Regions from separate parts of the Homo sapiens genome. Here region 1 is linked to region 2. The links are contacts of gene promoters, found by promoter capture Hi-C in human tissues and cell types (Jung and others, 2019). All regions are on one chromosome and are shown on one strand. The core of a region is centred on a gene start or on the middle of the fragment in contact, and the rest is flanking DNA. Distances in the headings are between cores, read along the strand shown. Region 1 overlaps MVB12A (multivesicular body subunit 12A). Region 2 holds the start of CPAMD8 (C3 and PZP like alpha-2-macroglobulin domain containing 8).

Region 1 (2,919 bases), core at 243-2,742, 400 kb before region 2:
CAGCCTCCGGACCCCAGAGGGTTTTGACACAAATGACTTAAAGGCACTGGCTTCTGTCCAGCTCCAGCCCTGCCCGGCAGGGCGTGGGGGCGGAGACCCCATCACCACGCAGCCTCGACCCGCCCCCTCCTCCAGGGCTGCAGCTCCGCCCAGTGGCTGAAGATAGCAAACGCCTTGCAGGGCGAAGGTTCCCAGGATGCAGTGAGTGGGGGTGGCCCCAGGATGCAGTGAGGGGGGGTGGCCCCAGGCTGGCGGGGAGGTGGAGTAAGGGGGCTCTTTCCGCGGAAGGGTGAGGGACTATGAGACGCTGGGGGGCAGGCGGGCAGCCGCGGTCTTCTCCACCACGAAGCCGTAGTTATACTGGGGGATGGGGAGAGAGAGAGTGAACAGGTGCCAGAGTAAAGAGAGGGCCAAAGGGGGAGTGACTGAGGAATGGCAGAGTGGGTACTTAGGGACTTGAGTGGTCTTCTGCCCTGGAGAGATGGTGTGTGTCTGGGGCAAAGCGGGGATGGGGAAAACTGGGACAGCCTGGGGCGGACGAGGGGCGGGTGCCGGCCCCTCAGGCACCTCCTCCCTAGCCCTGCACCCACCTCCTCCCTAGCCCTGCACCCACCTCCTCCTCAATGTCCGCCAGAGACTTGATGGTCAGGTCCCCAAAAGCAGAGAAGGCCTGGCGGGCAGAGGTGGGTCAGCCTTGGGCCCGATCTCAACCTGAAACCCCCTTTCCTTCGTCTTCAAGGGGTCCTGCCCTCCCCCCAACACTCCCCGAATATTCCCTCGGACATCCCTCCCCCTTATTTTTCTTGTTTGTTTTGTTTTGTTTTTAGAGACAAAGTCTCTAAAGCCGCGCCTGGCTAATTTTTGTATTTTCAATAGAGACGAGGTTTCACCATGTTGGCCAGGCTGGTCTCGATCTCCTGGCCTCAAGTGATCCACCTGCCTTGGTCTCCCAAAGTGCTGGGATCACAGTCGTGAGCCACCATGCCCAGCATCCCTCCCCCTTCTTGTCACAGCCTCTAGCTACTGGTGTCCAGCTGCTTTCTCTGGATGGATCCCTCCCCATTCTAAGACTGAAGACCTTCCAGCTGCCACCTGGAGGTGACACACTCCAGCCCCAACCCAGGATGTGGCCCTCTGTGCTGGGGCACTGGATACAGGGATGTCCTGGCACCCAGAATGGTGATGGCAGGCGCAGACCCAGGCTCCCTGAGACCCCGACTCACCAGGGGGCTGCAGCTCTTGCCCTCAAATCGTGGGTGGAGTGTGAAGGGAACCCCATCCATGGCTGAAAAACACGTGCGAGGGGAGGAGGTGAGGTGTAGGGAACTGCCCACCCCACCCACAGAGGCCCAACCCGCACAGCCTGGCTCCTTCAGTCTTTACAGAATCCAGAGTTGGGAGAGGGAAGTAGGAAGATCCTTCCTGGTTGTGTAATCTCAAGACAGTCACACCCTCCACTTCCACGCCTCAGTTTCCCCACTCTGTGCTCACCTGAGATGCCATAGAGGCTGGAGGCCTCGTAGATGGAGTCATTCCTCCGCAGAGTGGATGCCCGAGAGCCCAGCCTTGACGCTGTCCGCTCCAGGAGGCCGCCCTTACTGGAGGTGGGATGACTCAGGTTAAGCCTCATCCTCCCACAACGGCCACCCCCACTCCGGTGCCTGAGGACTCACCTTGGCTGGCTGGCTGCATCCAGAGAGAGGCCCTGCATGTCCCGGCTGAGACCTCGGGGCTTGGGCACTGGCCTCGGGGCCTTGGCCTTCTTGCACCAGATGGCAAAGCCGCCCATGTCCCTGGACCAGGAGGGAAGGTGGGAGGGATGCTGGCCCGGTGTGGGGCCAGGGTTGAGGATAGCCCCTGGAGAAGGCGGGGGACCCGGGCATGCAGGTGACCTCTGTCTTTTGGGGGAATTTTTTTTTTTTTTTTTTTTGGGGACGGAGTTTCGCTCATGTTGCCCAGGCTGGAGTGCAATGGCGCAATCTAGACTCACTGCAATCTCCACCTCCCAGGTTCAAACGATTCTCCTGCCTCAGCCTCTGGATTAGCTGGGATTACAGGCAACCATGCCCAGCTAATTTTTTTTTTTTTTTTTTTTTTTTAAGTAGAAACGGAGTTTCACCATGTTGGCCAGGCTGGTCTCGAACTCCTGACCTCAGGTGATCCGCCCGCCTTGGCCTTCCAAAGTGCTGGGACTACAGGCGTGAGCCACCGTGCCCAGTCTTTTGGGGGATTTTTGTTTCAGCATCTTGACCCACACCCGAAGCACCACACCAAACTAATACTGCTGGGTTCAAATCACCGTTCTGTCTACTTTATTTTTATTTATTTTATTTTATTTTTGAGACGGAGTCTCGCTCTGTCGCCCCAGACTGGAGTGCAGTGGCGCGATCTCAACTCACTGCAACCTCCGCCTTCCAGGTTCAAGTGATTTTCCTGCCTCAGCCTCCCAAGTAGCTGGGACTACAGGCGTGTGCCACCATACCCGGCTAATTTTTTGTATTTTCAGTAGAGATGGGGTTTCAACATGTTAGTCAGGATGGTCTCGATCTCCTGACCTTGTGATCGGCCCGCCTCAGCCTCCCAAAGTGCTGGGATTACAGGCGTGAGCCACCGCGCCCAGTCCTGTTATGTCTACTTTAGACACCAAGTCACTGACTCCTAATGACAGTCCTACAAGATGATATATATGTCCCGGTTTTAACATGCAGAATCTGAGGCTCAGAAGGTAGAAGAAGGAACAGGAGACCTCAGGGGTGTCCTTGAGGGTCAGATTGGTGAGATCATGAGTTGGGAGGGCAGGGAAGGTGGCTAGACACTGGGGGGTGGCCCTACCCTATTCGAAGGTATCCAGGCACTGTCTTGGTCTTCCCACTCAGCCGGACATCAAACACAGCCGTGTCCGTGGCTCCCAGGGGCAAC
Region 2 (2,905 bases), core at 226-2,725:
GCTGTTGACAGGGCTGAGAAGCCCCCAGAGGACCCACATCCCTAGGGGCAGGGAGGGGGCAAGAGAAGCTTCCCTTGAGTTTCCTGGAAGGATCAGGAGTTGGACTGGCAAAGGAGGCAGGTAGAGGAAGACAGAGATTAGGCAGAAGCAGGCAGTGGAGTAAGAACAGGGTGTTGGAGGAACTAGGCTGAGGTCTCTGCCATCAAAGCCAGAGTTTAGATTTGGTCTCAATAAACGGGAAGCCCTGGCTGGATGTGGTGGCTCACACCTGTAATCCCAGCACTTTGGGAGGCTGAGGAGGGAGGATCATTTGAGCCCAGTGCTCAAGACCAGCCTGGGCAACACAGTGCGACTCCGTTTCTAAAAAAAAATATATAAAAATTAGCTGGGTGCGGGCTTGCACCTGTAGTCCCAGCTACTCTCCAGGAGTCTGAAGCTGCAGTGAGCTGTGACTGCACCACTAAATTCCTGCCTGGGCAACAGAGCAAAACTCTGGTCTCAAAACATAAAAATAAAATGTAAAATAAACAGGGAGCCCCGAGGATTCCGGGCAGGAGGGGGTGTGGTCAGCACTGGAATTTTAGAAGAAGGGCAGTTGGTAGCTGGGGGAAGGGGGTTCCACACTGGAAGGAGGGGGTCCAGGACTTGGACATGGTATAGGATGTGCCGCCTGCCAGTGGGACCTAGGACAGCAGGACCATCACTGAGGTGGCCACACGGGGAGGGGCAGGAGGGGACACCCTGCTCTTGGAGAGAAAGGGGGTGCCCATCCACCCCTGCTGTATGAAGGGGAAAGGGGGACTCTGAGGCCCAGCGAGAGAGGGGACGGGCCCAAGGGATTTGTGGACAGTGGGGGTGGGGGAGAGGGGAGCAGAGAGCACAGATAGGGACCTGGGGCAGATGTGAGTCTGGGAGGTTCGACCCCTGGCTAGACTGTTTCCCCAAAGGGTCCTCTGCTCCTTGGGCTGTACGCACTGCACTGGGCACTAGATACAGGCCAGGGCTTAGGGCACGGCGGCGCCTGTGGGATCGGGGTTGCAGGCGGCGTCCAGACCCAGGGGCCCCTGGTGAGGGGCGGGCCCGGGGAGGGGGCCATAAGGGGCTGGCTGGGGAGGGAGGGAGGGAGAGGCCAGGGAAGGGACAGGTTCCGAGTGGACGCTGGGTGGAGAGGAGAGGGAGAGTGGGGGCGGTGGGGGGTCGGGTCCGAGGCGGGGCTGGTGGGGAGGGGGGCATCCGGGGGCGAATCCGGGTAGGGGGTGAGGAGGCGGGTTCGGAAGGAATCGGGCAGGGCCCGGGTGGGTCCGGTGAGTAAGTGAGGGGACGATCCCCGGAAGGGATCGGGGCGGGTCGGGGTCCGGAGATGGGCGGAGCAGGCGTCCCGGGAGGGTGCGCCCAGGAGCGGGGCGAGCGGGGCGAGCGGGGCGGTCCCGGAGACGAGGCGGGTCCGGGGAGGGGGCTGGCCCGGGGCTGCCCCAGCTTGGCCGGGCGCGGAGCGGGGCGCATGGCGCCGGGCGCACTGCGCGGGGGCTGCGAACAAAGGGCCCCCGGCGGCGGCGCGAGGACGGCCGCGCTCGGACCCTGGCCCTGGCCCAGCCCTGGCCCGGCCCCCTCCCCAGGCGCGGCGCCCCCCAGGAGCCGAAAAATGAGCGGCGCCCTGCTCTGGCCGTTGCTCCCGCTCCTGCTCCTGCTGCTGTCGGCGCGGGACGGCGTGCGCGCCGCGCAGCCTCAGGCCCCGTGAGTATCCTCCGGCGACAGAGGAGGTCGGTCGCCTTCTGGGGTGGGGGTCGCGGGTACTGGCTCAGAGTGTTGCAGCGACCTGCCCAAGGCCACACAGCCTCCGCGCTGGGCTGGACCTGGCCTCTTGTTCCCGAATCGTCTTGAGGAGGGGGCGCCCTAAAGTTTCCGAAGTGGCTCTGTGGAGGTACAGGGACTCCCAAAAGCTAAAGGTGCTGAGGTCAGCTCCCCCCGCCCCACCTCGCCCCCTTCGTGTGACCCGGGCTGTCATCATGGGTGGCGATTTCCAGTTGTCCAAGGTATGAAGGTAAGAGGAGCGTCTTGGCTGAGAAGTGGGAGGAGAGTGCGAAGGGGCACTTTCCCGTGGGTGGGCGTGGTGAGGGAGGAGGAAGTGTTTGTTTTGCTTCTACATTTTTCTAGAGGTTTGCTTGCAGGCTTCTGGTGGGTTGACAGCGGGGAGAAGGTGAATTAACTAACTGCTGGGGAGTACTGCTAAGTTGGCTTCACAGAGAATATTTCTAAACCTGGCAAGTTCGGGTGAGCTCTGCAGGGCTGCGGGTTCAGGGGGGCTGCCCTGGTCTGCACAAGACCAGCCTTTTAGTCCAGCTGGGCGTTTAGAAGGCGGCTTGTTCAAGCAGCCCTTGTTTAGGAGTTTCCAGAAAACTGGTAAGCAGTGAGACTAGGTGGGTGTCGTTATTTGCAGTGAGTAGTTGGTCCTTGCTGGTCACAGTTTTAAAAGCAAGACAGTCTACTGCGCTCTGAGCATCCAGACTTCCCTCTCCTAGGCTTCGTGAAATCGGAACCCTACAAATTTTCATCCTAATGCTTCTTTCAAAGCTGGCATCCCTTAGAATAGTGGTTCTCAGCCCTGGGGGGGATTTTTGTCTCCCTGAGGCCGCTGGGAAATGTCTGGAGGTATTTTTGGTTGTCACAAATAGGGAGAGGCATTTGGTGTTGGCATTAAGTGGGTGCAGGCCAGGAATGCTGGTAAACAGCTTTCGATGTGCAGGTCAGCTTCCACTGCAAGGAATGACGCGGCCCCACATGACAGACCTTGGCTCCAATGAGAGACCCTGCCTTATACAGAGGTTTTTGTTTGTTGTTTGTTGTTTTTGGGGTTTGTTTTTGTTTTTGTTTTGAGATGGAGTTTTACTCTTGTTGCCCAGGCTGG

Evidence for each region. Contacts are between HindIII fragments. The study calls those that stand out against the background at their distance.
Region 1: a fragment that was not itself captured here is called in contact with the fragment with the promoter of CPAMD8 in region 2 in 1 of the 25 tissues and cell types used here (thymus).

Annotation. Positions count from the first base shown.
Region 1 is chr19:17,422,372-17,425,290 of GRCh38, reverse strand. It overlaps MVB12A (multivesicular body subunit 12A), which reads right to left. Exons shown (of 9, transcript NM_138401.4): 4 at 2,833-2,919; 5 at 1,674-1,793; 6 at 1,492-1,598; 7 at 1,224-1,285; 8 at 614-670; 9 at 1-360. The coding sequence ends at 298. Among named protein-coding and RNA genes, the nearest start is that of MVB12A, 3.8 kb to the right of the region's middle. RefSeq lists an enhancer at 913-1,438. The HindIII fragment of the contact is 7,886 bases long and covers 1-2,919 here.
Region 2 is chr19:17,025,380-17,028,284 of GRCh38, reverse strand. It overlaps CPAMD8 (C3 and PZP like alpha-2-macroglobulin domain containing 8), which reads left to right and starts at 1,475. Exons shown (of 42, transcript NM_015692.5): 1 at 1,475-1,734. The coding sequence starts at 1,643. RefSeq lists an enhancer at 395-1,303. The HindIII fragment of the contact is 4,679 bases long and covers 1-2,905 here.